4 separate regions of the Homo sapiens genome follow, and regions 1, 2 and 4 are each linked to region 3. The links are contacts of gene promoters, found by promoter capture Hi-C in human tissues and cell types (Jung and others, 2019). All regions are on one chromosome and are shown on one strand. The core of a region is centred on a gene start or on the middle of the fragment in contact, and the rest is flanking DNA. Distances in the headings are between cores, read along the strand shown. Region 1 overlaps KIF24 (kinesin family member 24). Region 2 overlaps NUDT2 (nudix hydrolase 2). Region 3 holds the start of GALT (galactose-1-phosphate uridylyltransferase). Region 4 has its middle 14 kb from the start of UBAP1.

Region 1 (3,505 bases), core at 947-3,446, 360 kb before region 3:
ATGAAGAGCAACGGGATTGCTCATATACTGCTTGTAGGAATGCACACCACTCTGGGAAACAGTCGGCAGCATTTAGTGTAGCTGAAAATATGGGCCACTGTGCCTGTCATCCTAACACTTTGGGAGGCTGAGGTGAGAGGATTGCTTGAGCCCAGGAACTTGAGACCAGCCTGGGCAACATGGTAGGACCCTGTCTCTACAAAGAATAAAAAAATTAGCCAAGTGTGGTGGCATATGCTTGTGGTCCCAGCTACTTGGGAAGCTGAGGTAGGAGGATTGCTTGAGCCCAGGAGGTCAAGGCTGCAGTGAGCCATGTGTTCATGCCACTGGACTCCAGCCTGGGCTGGACAGAGCAAGACCCTGTCTCTAGAAAAAAATAAAAATAATAAAAAAAGAAAAAGCATATCATCTGACCTAATCATTTCACAGCTAGGTATATATCCTAGACAACCCATGTGCTCTGTACAGAAATACATGTATAAGCACACTCACAGCTGCAATGCTCCAAATAACTCTAAAATAGAAACAACCCCAGTTGTTTATTAACAGGAGAATGGATAAATTGTGGTATATTCCTATGATAAAACACTCTACAGAAAATAAAAATGAAGAAAACTAAAGCCAAATGCAAAAACCTCAATGGAACTGAAAAGCATAATATTGAGCAAAAGAAACAAAACACCAAAAAATACACAGTGTAGTTCTACTCAAGCAAAGTTCAAAAACAGATGAAAACTAACTTAGATGGTTTGGGGATAAATACATAGGTGGTAAAACTATAACAAATAACAAGAAAGTGATCAGCACAAAAGTCAGGATAATAGGGGGGTGTTATTGGAAAGTCACACAGGGGGTTTGTAGGGTGCTACAATGTTCTATTTCTTGATCTGAGTAGCTGATTACAAGGGTGCTTGTTTCTTTATACTGTACATACTTAGGTTTTATGCATTTTTCTGTATAGTGCTATTTTTCACAATAAAAAAGGTTAAATCATTTTTTAAGTAAGGAAAAAAAGGCTCCAAACAATCTAATGTAAAGCCAGGGTTGAGGAACACTGCATTAAAGGAAGGTTCAACAGAAATCTATTTGTACTTACGTTAATAAATGCCCAGAACAGGAAAAAAAAATTAAATATTTTACCGTGGACAGTGGATAGCTCAGTGGGGAACAGGGGAAGTGGGGTATGTATAGTAAGTTAGAGGGGCCTTTACTATCTTCTTACATATTTCTGTAATGTTTAAACTTAATGATAAGTATGACTTTTATTACAATAAAAGAATAACTTAATAAAAGAAGCAGATTGAAAAATTCCTTTGGAAGGACACACAAAAAACTAATAAAATTAGTTGCTCTGGAAAAGGAAATGGAAGTGGGTATTTTCACTTTTGAATTCTGAACTCATGTGATAGTATTACTTATTAAAAATTGTATTTAAAATAAGGGCCAGGTGCGGTGGCTCACGCCTGTAATCCTAGCACTTTAAGAGGCCAAGGTGAGAGGACTGCTTGAGGTCAGGAGTTCGAGACCACCCTAGGCGACACAGCAAGACACCATCTCTACAAAAAATTTTTAAAAATTAGCCAGGTCTGGCAGGGCGTGGTGGCTCACGCCTGTAATCCCAGCACTTTGGGAGGCCAAGGTGGGCGGATCATGAGGTCAGGAGATCGAGACCATTCTGGCAAACACGGTGAAACCCCGTTTCTACTAAAAAATACAAAAAATTAGCTGGGCGTGGTGGCGGGTGCCTGTAGTCCCAGCTACTTGGGAGGCTGAGACAGGAGAATGGCATGAACCCGGGAGGCAGAGCTTGCAATGAGCAGAGATTGCGCCACTGCACTCCAGCCTAGGTGACAAAGTGAGACTCCATCTCAAAAAAAAAAAAAAAAAATTAAAAAAAAATTAGCCAGGTGTGGTGGCATGTGCCTGCAGTCCCCAGCTACTTGGGAGGCTGAAGTGGGAGGCTGCGGTGAGCTATGACTACACCTCTATACTCCAGCCTGGGCAACAGAGCAAGACCCTGTTGCTTAAAAAAAAAAAAAAAAAAAAGTAAAAAGAATTTAAAGTGCAAATATTTGTCTCCAGCAGCTTTTCCCAGAGCCCACTGCCATAGAGAAACACATTAGCAGCATTTGAAACTGGCCCAATAAGGCTGGGTGCGGTGGCTCACGGCTGTAATCCCAGCACTTTGGGAGGTCGAGGCGGGTGGATCACCTGAGGTCAGGAGTTCAAGACCAGCCTGGCCAACATGGTGAAACCCTGTCTCTACTAAAAATACAAAAATTAGCCAGGTGTGGTGGTGGGAGCCTGTAATCTCAGCTACTCAGGAGGCTGAGGCAGGAGAATTGCTTGAACCCACGAGGCAGAGGTTGCAGTGAGCAGAGATTGTGCCATTGCACTCCAGGTTGGGTGACAGAGCGAGACTCCATCTCAAAACAACAACAACAACAACAAAAAGAAACTGGCCCAGTAGTATCCTCCCAATGAATTAAGTTCTCCCACATGCCCTACCTCCCACTAATCGTGGGAGAAACCCTATAGAGAAACAAGCTATCCTCTCAGAAAAGAATTCACATTTTACAGATGGGAAGTGGTGGGCTTGTCATTGCCCTTTGCCTAAATATAAGTCCACAGTACTTGCTTAGTAGCAAAATGAATTTGTTCCCTGTACTTACACTGTTGTGGTGGGGTAATAAAGAAGGAAGAATTAATTACCTCTAAGAGGAGCTCCACACTGTCCACCTGAAGCTCTTGCAGTCCCACTATCTGCACCATGTGCTTGCTATCTTCTCTTGCAAAGAGCCTGCAGATGCAAGAAAGTGGTTGGTATGATGGTGCTACTAAAACAGACTTTGTTCTTGCCTCCCCAGAAACCATTCCACCATTCCTCTATTAAGTAGCAGTTTTCTGTTTGAGTGGGATGGATGCTTATCCTCCTCCCAACCCCACCCTCCTGACCTCAGCCCGATTCAGGGGTGGTTGTTGATTGTTGTAAAATAAATCAACAACTCTGGCTACAATTAAAAGAATGAGCACATATCTAAACTATGCTAATCAGTGGATGATGTACACCTGGCTATACTGTGATTTGTTCAGAGGTGGATATGGGATCTCTGCTGGTCCAATCAAAGTAAAGTCCTGGTCTCTGGTTGTTAGATGCCTGGTGAAGTGATGCTCTCTCTCTGTCCCTGGATGTGAAAGCATATGGCCCTGTGGCCCTGGGAGCAGTGGAAGCCATTTTGTATCTACAAAGAGAGTTGGCTTCAGGATGAAACTAATAACACAGAAGACAGAATGAAGAGATGCAAATAAACTGGGTCCTTATTGCATCCCTGAGCTGCTGGAGTAAACCAATGCTGAAGCCTGACTGTCCTCTAAGCTTTCCAGTTATTTGAGCCAATGATTTCCCTAAATGCTTAAGCTAGTACACATGGGGTTTTCTTTTATTTGCAATGTAAAGAGACCTGATACATCTTATAAAGGAGCAAGGAAGAGCTGGGCTGCATCT
Region 2 (3,282 bases), core at 533-3,032, 310 kb before region 3:
TCCATTGGTCCTGGGCATGCTGCCTTTTTCTGTGGGCTATGAGATCACAGTTAGCTAGTCTGCATTACTGTCCATCACCAGATTGCTACCCCCCAGTATGGAGCTTCCTATTTTGTGTAACTTCCCAATATTCTGTATCTTCTTTGTTAAGTCCTTAGGATAAGACCATGGCCTTGAGAGCATGTGGCTTGATCATCTTCCGAAGATGCCTCATTCCCAAAGTGGACAACAATGCAATTGAGTTTTTACTGCTGCAGGCATCAGATGGCATTCATCACTGGACTCCTCCCAAAGGTAGAGGCCAGAGGGGCCAGCTCTTGGGAAACTGCCAACCACTGCTCAGAAATCTACCCTGCCAGGCCCTCCCCAAGGCTTAATTCCCAGTGACTGTGTAGCAAAAAGGGGTAGGGAAGGTAGGAGCTCTTGACCCTTTCTACATACAAGGTCTCCAGACCAGGCCAGAGTAGAGCTGAGAATTCTGTGACTGAATTCCAGGGTAGAAACAGCACCTGGTGTTTTTATGAGTATCATTCGCCAGCTCTCCAACCTCTGTGGTGAATGGCTGGGTAAGAGAAAAAACAGTGGGCAGGGAATTGGGGACCTTGAGGTTGACTGAGCTATGTGCCCACCTCTCAGCTTTGAGTTTTTCATCTGTCAAACAAGGGCTTGACTAGAAAATCCTGTTTTCAGCCAGGCACAGTGGCACACGCCTATAATCCCAGCACTTTTGGAGGTCGAGGTGGGCAGATTGCTTGAGCCCAGGAGCTCGAGACCAGCCTGGGCAAAATGGCAAAACCATGTCTCTACAAAAAATACAAAAATTAGCCAGGTGTGGTGGTGCACACCTGTAGTCCCAGCTACTCAGGAGGCTGAGGTTAGAGAATAACTTGAGCTCGAGAGATCAAAGCTGCAGTGAGCCGAGATTGTGCCACAGCACTCCAGCCTGGACAACAGAGCCTGTCTCAAAAAAAAGAAAATCCTAAGTTTTCTTCCAGCCTGTCTCTGATTTCATTTGATCAATTTCCTTTGACTCCTAGTTCAGTGTCCCTATCATTAGGTTTTTCTTTTCTTTTTTTTTTTGAGACAAAGTCTCGCTTTGTCGCCCAGGCTGGAGAGCAGTGGGGCAATCTCAGCTCACTGCAACCTCCATCTCCCAGGTTCAAGCAATTCTCCTGCTTCAGCCTCCTGAGTAGCTGGGATTACAGGCGCCCACCACCACGCCTGGCTAATTTTTTGTATTTTTAGTAGAGACGGGGTTTCACCATGTTGGCCAGGCTGGTGTCAAACTCCTGACCTCAGGTGATCTGCCCGTCTGAGCCTCCCAAAGTGCTGGGATTACAGGCGTGAGCCACCGCACCCAGCCAGGTTTTTCTTTTGAACTAAACACAGAGAGTATGAGTTCTACAGTGTTTCTGAACATAGTTGTATTTTGAGTTGGAGCATAGAGAAGTTGGGCTCCCTGATCATAGATTCATCTGCAGATTGTGGCAGGAGTGGAGGAGTGAGGAGATGGGCAGGGCCTTCTTAGACCAGGAGGGGATGGGCAGGGCCTTCTTAGACTGTAAAGATTATGGAGACCTTGAGATTGCAGCTTGACCAGCTAGCTACCTGTGCCTTGAGTCTATCACTCAGCACTGAGGGTGGAGTCGGGCAAGTCTCCAGTGGGAAGAACAGTGAAGACTACTGGCCTGAGGCCTTAGGCCAGGCCAAGATCTGTTTGTAAGCTGGCCAGTTTTCATCCACCAGCACTCCTGACCTCACCTCTAAGAGTAAGAAAGCTGCAGTCATTTGGTCCTGAAAGAGAAGCCAGGCTGTGTGGGGAGAAATGGGAAAAAGGAGCCCTTCTTGGCTGAGGCCATTGGGATGGTTTGAGTTGGGAGGGACAGACTGTGGCTCAGGTGCCTGCTGGAATGAGGAATAGCCCTCAGACAGAAGGAAGCAGGGACTTTATTTTTTAAATTATTTTGTTATTATTATTACTATTTTATAGAGACAGGGTCTTACTATATTGCCCAGGCTGGTCTTGAACTCCTGGGCTCAAGTGATCTGCCCACTTGGTCTCCCAAAGTGCTGGGATTATAGGCATGAGCCACCACGCCTGGCCAGAAGCGGGGACTTTAAAAGGGAGTGGGGTTAGAAGGGATGGACAAAGATCCAGGATTGAAGGAAAACAAGGAAATGGGAACAGGAAATAAATTTTGCATGTTTGAGTTGTACTGGGGAGAAACAAGGTGAAAAAAGAGGCAGAAGCTTCACAAATACTATGAATAGGAATATTCACACTTGTCTCCGGATCACATGAGTCACACTGCCTTGTTCCTCTCACTACCTGATGTCAGTGGACCTCTCCTAATCCTTTCCTGCTTCGGCAGAAGCTACCCTGTTAATTAACACTGATGGACAGAATACTGAATAGATGCCCCTGGGAGGGGTGTGCTCAGGGACTTCCATACACCTCTGAGGGGAGGTAGGACGTCCTGAGTCAGTATCACCCATCACTACTAGCATCCCTCCCACCTTGCTCCCCTGATGCATTACCTGTCTGTCTTTGTGTACACCACTATAGGAGGTGCTTGTGCAGAGAAAATTCCCCAGAAGCTATAAGCTAGAATGGTTTTTAAGTGCTAAGTTTCTGGGGGTTTTGTTTGTTTGTTTGAGACGGAGTCTCGCTCTGTTGCCCAAACTGGAGTACAATGGCACAATCTTGGCTCGCTGCAACCTCCGCCTCCTGGGCTCAAGTGATTCTCCTGCCTCAGCCTCCCGAGTAGCTGGGATTACAGATGTCCACTGCCACGCCCAGCTCATTTTTGTATTTTTAGTAGAGACAGGGTTTCACCATGTTGGCCAGGCTGGTCTCAAACTCCTGACCTCAGATGATCCACCCGCCTCGGCCTCCCAGAGTGTTGGGATTACAGGCATGAGCCACCGCCCCTGGACCCTGGGGAGTTTTTTGTGCAGCAGCTGGCTCTGGGCATTGTAGACCCCTGGGAAGGATGAGGGCCCCCATCTCCAAACCAAGGAGAGAACAACTGAGTTCCTGCTCGCCATGAGCCTGTGAGCAGGAGGCCTCCCTAGAAACTTACTGGAGCCAAGGTGTAGACAGAGTCTGCCAGACCGTTCCCAGTCTTTGCCCCCTCTGGGGAAGCTGAAGATTTGTGGGAGGGGACTAGAGGTAAAGCTGAGAGCTGCTCCAGTCTGCAGAGCTTCAAGTTCTCCTACAGCAGTTTCTTGGCAGCTGTCTTCTTGGGTTTGGGTGTTGCTAACACATTTTCTTAGAAGTGG
Region 3 (3,524 bases), core at 1,025-3,524:
GAGTGGCCATTTTTTTATTCCTTCACTTTCCTGATAAACTTGCTTTCACTTCACACTATGGACTCACCTTGAATTCTTTCTTGTGTGAGATCCAAGAATCCTCTCTTGGGGTCTGGATTGGGATCTCTTTACTGTAACAACACCTCTGGGATCTGGCAGGGAGGGAGCTGGTTAGGCCCATCTTAGTCATTCTCCTCTTCCTCCAAAAAATGACCTTGGGGAGTCATAGAGGAGAATTATGGAGATGTTCCTGAAGAGATGTTCCTGATGGGGGTCAGGATTTAATTAGCATGATTCAGGGGGCGGCACTGAAGCACTGGTGTTCTTGGGAAAATGGAGCTGTCTACAAGCTCTAGTCACTCAAACAAATATAAATGAGAGAATGGAAAAGCAGATCTCCTGTTCCTGTCTCACCTCTTTGGGTAATATGAACAGCCAGTGGGACAGGTAAAACCCCTGTTTCTCAGTCCTCAGCTCCCTGCCCCCTACCTCTGAAGGTAGCCTCTTCCTATTCCAGTCTGAGGACCCTAGGGCAGAGATCAAGTAAATGACCCATGACCTAGTTTTTGCAGCTCAATTGCAAAACACCTGGCTTGGCTTGGTCTTGATTGGGGGAAGGGATGTCCCTGCTATGGCTCAACTTCTAACTCACTGGGTCTCTGTCCTGCATTCCACTGAAGCCTCAGAGGCATCTCACAGCACTGGGAAAAGCCTTGGAAACTTGCATTCAAATCTCAGCTTGGCCACTAATTCTCTGGGTGACCTTGAGTCCTCTGGGCTCCAATGTGAAATGGGGAAGAGGTTTAGACAATATTTAGATGGCTCTTTAAAAGTACTGGGGGCCAGCTGTTTGGGAGGCTGAGGCAGGAGGATCACTTGAAGTCAGGAGTTCAAGACCAGCCTGGCCAACATGTGAAACCCCGTCTCTACTAAAAATACATAAATTAGCCCAGTGTGGTGGCACACAGCTCTAATTCCAGCTACTTGGAGGCTGAGGCAGGAGAATCGCTTGAACCTGGGAGGTGGAGGTTGCAGTGAGCCAAGATCACGCCACTGCACTCCAGCCTGGGTGGCAGAGTGAGACTCTCTCTCAAACAAACAAACAAACAAAAGTACCAGGGGAGGAATTAATTTGAATTTTATCCTAGTGTTAGCCAATTGGTCCCATCCAAGGAAAATTTAGAAAAGGGAAGGGGATGTGTAAAGGAAACACTAGGCCCCACCTAGATGGTGGCTGGAGCTTCTGATAGTCCTGTACTCTCCACATTTTTAGACTTTCTTGTACTTTTTTTTTTTTTTTTGTGACGGAGTCTGCTCTGTCGCCAGGCTAGAGTGCATGGGCACAATCTCGGCTCACTGCAACCTCTGCCTCCTGGGTTCAAGTGATTCTCCTGCCTCAGCCTCCCGAGTAGGTGGGACTACAGGTGCACGCCACCAAGACCAGCTAATTTTTTTTTTTTTTTTTTTTACTAGAGACGGGGTTTCACCATGTTGGCCAGGATGGTCTCAATTTCTTGACCTTGTGATCCGCCTGCCTTGGTCTCCCAAAGTGTTGGGATTACAGGCGTGAGCCACCGAGCCCGGCCATTTTTAGATTTTTTTTTATAGCCCTTTTACCCCTCCCACTTCTTGTGCTGTCTTGGTGTGTGTATGAAAAAGAGAGAGAGAGAGAGAGGAAGGAGAGCAAGAGTGAGAGAAAAAGAGAATATGGTTACTTAGCCCTTTTTCCCAAATCTGTTTTTGCTTTTGGGGATAGGATATGGTTATGGTGAAGTACTCCACACAGACCCCACCAAGTTTGCCTCTCCTGCGCTACAGCCACTGAGCAGGTGACTGAGGCGCTGTTGATCCAGGGTCATATCCTTACTCGCCCTAGAATGTAAGCTCAGGCAGGGCAGAGGCCATGCCTGACATGTGCATCCCAATGCTTTACACAGCCTAGGTGCCTAGCACATGCTAGATGCTTGGTAAATATTTGCTGAATGAAAGATCAAATGAATGATTGCAGCAAGCAAGTCCTGTAGGCATCCTGGAGCCCAAGGATTCTGCAGTAGGCAGCTTTCACAGAGGTTCTTCCAGTGTAGTGGCTCTAGCTCTGGGTGAAGTAGGATCATCAATGTCGGCCCCCAGGGTTCACAGCTGTTCTGAGCCCCGCCCCCAGGTGGCAGGGCAGCCCAGTCAGTCAGTCACGTGCTGGCGGCTGGCCAATCATCGGGGGCGGCGCGGGGAGGGGTGGTGTGGACGGAGAAAGTGAAAGGTGAGGCACGGCCCTGCAGATTTTCCAGCGGATCCCCCGGTGGCCTCATGTCGCGCAGTGGAACCGATCCTCAGCAACGCCAGCAGGCGTCAGAGGCGGACGCCGCAGCAGCAACCTTCCGGGCAAACGGTAACTGCACCGCGGCAGGGACTCGCTGGGGCGCGGAGCCGAGCCCTCCCCTTCCTTAGGAAGCTTTCGTCCCCTCCGAAGGTTGGAACGCTCATCCCGAGCCAGACCGACAAGGCGTACAGTCTGCAGGCCTGTACGAGCAGCAGGCCAATTGGCGCTGGGAAAGTCCAATCCTGGGCCTCTAGCTCCTGAGCGGGACAGGGCCGAGAGGGCGCTCCCGAGCTTGGGCCTGCTGGTGGGTGAGACCCAGGAGAGAGGGAGCTAGAGAGCTCTGAGGACTGATCTTGACTGTCTGCCCCCAGACCATCAGCATATCCGCTACAACCCGCTGCAGGATGAGTGGGTGCTGGTGTCAGCTCACCGCATGAAGCGGCCCTGGCAGGGTCAAGTGGAGCCCCAGCTTCTGAAGACAGTGCCCCGCCATGACCCTCTCAACCCTCTGTGTCCTGGGGCCATCCGAGCCAACGGAGAGGTAAGCCTGTAGAGCCCTGCATCTGCAGGCTGGGCCACGGGGAGTAGTTCCCTCTTAGAACTGTCCTCCACCCACAGGGATAGTGAACCTCCTTCTGGGTCATATCCCACCAAGCTTTTTGGTCCCCTAGGGTGGGCCTTCCCTACTCCCTTGTAGCCTGTCCAGTCTTTGAAGCCCACCAGGTAACTGGTGGTATGGGGCAGTGAGTGCTTCTAGCCTATCCTTGTCGGTAGGTGAATCCCCAGTACGATAGCACCTTCCTGTTTGACAACGACTTCCCAGCTCTGCAGCCTGATGCCCCCAGTCCAGGTAACCTGGCTCCAACTGCTGCTGGGGAGGAGGGTGGCTAGACCTCTTGAGGGACTTCTGCTGCAGAGAGTGATACTCCTTTACCTCAGGACCCAGTGATCATCCCCTTTTCCAAGCAAAGTCTGCTCGAGGAGTCTGGTAACTATGGATTTCCCCTCTTACAACTTTCAAACCAGAGTTGGAGACTCAGCATTGGGGTTCGGCCCTGCCCGTAGCACAGCCAAGCCCTACCTCTCGGTTATCTTTTCTCCCGTCACCACCCAGTAAGGTCATGTGCTTCCACCCCTGGTCGGATGTAACGCTGCCACTCATGTCGGTCCCTGAGATCCGGGCTGTTGTTGATGCATGGGCCTCAGT
Region 4 (3,205 bases), core at 656-3,155, 480 kb before region 3:
TCTCGGCTCATTGCAACCTCCGCCTCCCGGGTTCAAGCAATTCTCCTGCCTCAGCCTCCCAAGTAGCTGGGACTATAGACACGCACCACCACGTCTAGCTAATTTTTGTATTTTTAGTAGGCACTGGGCTTCACTGTGTTGGCCAGGATGGTCTCAATCTCCTGACCTCAGGTGATCCATCTGTCTCGGCCTCCCAGAGTGCTGGGATTACAGGTGTGAGCCACTGCTCCTGGCCAGGAGTCCATTTATTACAGGGTCTCCATATGCCCCAACTCTAAAGGGGGGATCCTGAGGATGCTTTGAGTCCCATACTGGTATCAATTTCATTTCAGACCTTGTGTCCAACAGTCCTTGTATTGCTTGGGTAATATTGCTCTTTCCACTGCGTTTGGGGGCCCAAACAAATACTAGTGGACCTTTTTGAGGAAGGACTGGAGGAATCATTGCCAAATACATTTATTAGAGTGTCACGGGGTCCTCCTTCTGGAGACCTGGCAGCTGCTTCAGTCACTGGGTTGCAGGTCTGAAGACTGGTTGTGATCCAGAAGCTGAGCAATGAATCATGACTCAGCTTCTTGATCATCTAGCCTGGGTTCCTTTTAATTGTCTAGGTTGAGTAATATCCTTGTTGGCCATCTCACCTTTAAGAACATCATGAACTATTAGCCATCTCCATCGCTCTCTGCAGGTCAGGACCCTCTGGCTGCTGTTCCAACTTCATAGATCATTGTAATTGCAACTATTTGCTTCTGATGGTTACATGCTGCTCTCTGGCCTCTATTATTTTAAGATACTATTATTCCCATTGCTATCAAGGTGCCCTGTTCTGAAACCACAAGGGCAGCTACCACTGAGCTTCTCAGTAATACCAATATCACTTTTCTTTTTTTGAGACAGGGGCTCACTCTGTCACCCAGGCTGGAGTGCAGTAGCATGATCTCGGCTTGCTGCAACCTCTGTCCACCCCTAGGCACAATTGATCCTCCCATCTTAGCTTCCTGAGTAGTTGAGACCACAAGCATGTACCACCATGCCTGGCTATTTTTTCTGTATTTTTAGTAGAGATGGGGTCTCACTGTATTGCTTAGGCTGGTCTTGAACTCCTGAGCTTAAGTGATCCACCCACCTTGGCCTCCCAAAGGGCTGAGATTACAGGTGTGAGCCACCGTGCCCAGCCCCTCCAATGTCACTTTCATCAGAGAATTCCTTGGAGCTCTTCTGTGGAAAAGTCATTTGGTAAGTTTCCTGGTTTTACACGGTATATCCATTCTAACTTTCCTCTTCTTTTAGTCTTTTGATCCCTACTTGCACCATCTCCTATAGCAGTTCTGATATTTCTTTTTTTTTTTTTTTTTCTGAGATGGAATTTTGCTGTTTTTGCCCAGGCTGGAGTGCAATGGTGCAATCTCGGCTCACTGCAACCTCCACCTCCCAGGTTCAAGCGATTCTCCTGCCTTAGCCTCCTGAGTAGCTGGGATTACAAGTGCCTGCCACCACGCCTGGCTAATTTTTGTATTTTTAGTAGAGATGGGGTTTCACCTTGTTGGCCAGGCTTGAACTCCTGACCTCAGGTGGTCCACCCGCCTCAGCCTCCGAAAGTGCTAGGATTATAGGCATGAGCCACTGTACCCGGCCTCTTTTTTTTTTTTTTTTTTTTTTTGAGACAGAGTCTCACTCTGTCACCCAGGCTGCAGTGCAGTGGTGTGATCTCGGCTTACTGCAACCTCACCCTCCTGGGTTCAAGCAATTCTCCTGCCTCAGCCTCCCAAGTAGCTGGGATTACAGGTGCAAGCCACTACTCCCCATTAATTTTTTGTTTGTTTGTTGTTGTTTGTTCGCTTGAGACAGAGTCTCACTCTTGTTGCCCAGGCTGGAGTGCAATGGCGTGATCTCGTCTCACAGCAAGCTCTGCCTCCTGGGTTGAGGTGATTCTCCTGCCTCAGCCTCCCCAGTAGCTGGGATTACAGGTATGCGCCACCTTGCCCAGATAATTTTTTTTGTATTTTTAGTAGAGACGAGGTTTCCCCATGTTGGCCAGGCTGGTCCCAAATTCCTGACCTCAGGTGATCCACCTACCTCAGCCTCCCAAAGCGCTGGGATAAGAGGCATAAGCCACCACGCTCGGTCTAATTTTTGTATTTTTATTTGTTTGTTTTTTTTTTTTTTTTTTTGAGACAGAGTTTCGCTCTGTCGCCTAGGCAGACAGAGTGCAGTGGCGCGATCTTGGCTCATTGCAAGCTCTGCTTCCCGGGTCCACGCCATTCTCCTGCCTCAGCCTCCCGAGTAGCTGGGACTACAGGCACCTGCCACGGCGCCCGGCTAATTTTCTGTATTTTTAGTAGAGGTGAGGTTTCACCGTGTCAGCCAGGATAGTCTCAATCTCCTGACCTCTTGATCCACCCACCTCGGCCTCCCAAAGTGCTGGGATTACAGGCGTGAGCCACCGCGCCCAGCCTAATTTTTGTATTTTTAGTAGAGATGGGGTTTCACCATGTTGGCCAGGCTGGTCTCAAACTCCTCAAGTGATCCACCCACCTTAGCTTCCCAAAGAGCTGGTATTAGAGGTATGAGCTGCCCGGTCTGATATTTCTATTTATTTATTACAGCCCATCACTTTCTCTAAGCTCATAAGACCCATCCTAAGAATATGTTAGCACTATTTCTCAGGGTCCTTGTCAGGGTGTTAAATCCTGTGTTCCAAGTTGATAACCTCTCCCTATTTTGGTTGAGAATTGGAATCCTCAGAATCCAGTCCCATGAATATTCTCCTGCCATTTGTCAGTACATATTGGTTATGTTCTACAGCTCCTTTAGCTATAGTCTCTTTCCTCCTTCGGCATGTCCTGGTCATTCATGTTGTTATTTAATTTTAGTTATTGGTCCAATGATTAGGTTGGGACTTTAAAGTAGATCCAGATGGCAAGGCACCTATCTTTTTTTTTTTTTTTTTTTTTTTGAGACAGGATCTTGCTCTGTCACCCAGGCTGGAGTGCAGTGGCGCAATTTCGGCTCACTACAGCCTCGACCTCCCATGTTCAAGTGATTATCCGGCTTCTGCCTCCTGAGTAGCTGGGATTACAGGTGCACACCACCATGCCCAGGTAAACAGGCACCTGTCTTGTAAGGCAGGTATTTTTACATTGTCTTCAAGCAAGGAGGAATGCTAAGCTTTAACAAAGAGGAATGGGCAATGTGTTGGGTCCTT

The links. Contacts are between HindIII fragments. The study calls those that stand out against the background at their distance.
Region 1: a fragment that was not itself captured here is called in contact with the fragment with the promoter of GALT in region 3 in 1 of the 25 tissues and cell types used here (heart left ventricle).
Region 2: a contact is called between a fragment that was not itself captured here and the fragment with the promoter of GALT in region 3, in 1 of the 25 tissues and cell types used here (hippocampus).
Region 4: a fragment that was not itself captured here is called in contact with the fragment with the promoter of GALT in region 3 in 1 of the 25 tissues and cell types used here (fat).

Annotation. Positions count from the first base shown.
Region 1 is chr9:34,283,905-34,287,409 of GRCh38, forward strand. KIF24 (kinesin family member 24) reads right to left here. Exons shown (of 13, transcript NM_194313.4): 6 at 2,713-2,800. Among named protein-coding and RNA genes, the nearest start is that of KIF24, 44 kb to the right of the region's middle. The HindIII fragment of the contact is 3,184 bases long and covers 605-3,505 here.
Region 2 is chr9:34,338,873-34,342,154 of GRCh38, forward strand. It overlaps NUDT2 (nudix hydrolase 2), which reads left to right. Exons shown (of 5, transcript NM_001161.5): 4 at 152-294. The coding sequence starts at 168. Among named protein-coding and RNA genes, the nearest start is that of NUDT2, 11 kb to the left of the region's middle. The HindIII fragment of the contact is 7,642 bases long and covers 1-3,282 here.
Region 3 is chr9:34,644,401-34,647,924 of GRCh38, forward strand. GALT (galactose-1-phosphate uridylyltransferase) reads left to right here and starts at 2,275. Exons shown (of 11, transcript NM_000155.4): 1 at 2,275-2,386; 2 at 2,689-2,858; 3 at 3,092-3,167; 4 at 3,257-3,305; 5 at 3,432-3,524. The coding sequence starts at 2,305. RefSeq lists a silencer at 512-806 and enhancers at 512-806, 2,020-2,129, 2,700-2,879. The HindIII fragment of the contact is 1,689 bases long and covers 1,022-2,710 here.
Region 4 is chr9:34,163,080-34,166,284 of GRCh38, forward strand. No RefSeq gene overlaps it. Among named protein-coding and RNA genes, the nearest start is that of UBAP1, 14 kb to the right of the region's middle. The HindIII fragment of the contact is 3,163 bases long and covers 325-3,205 here.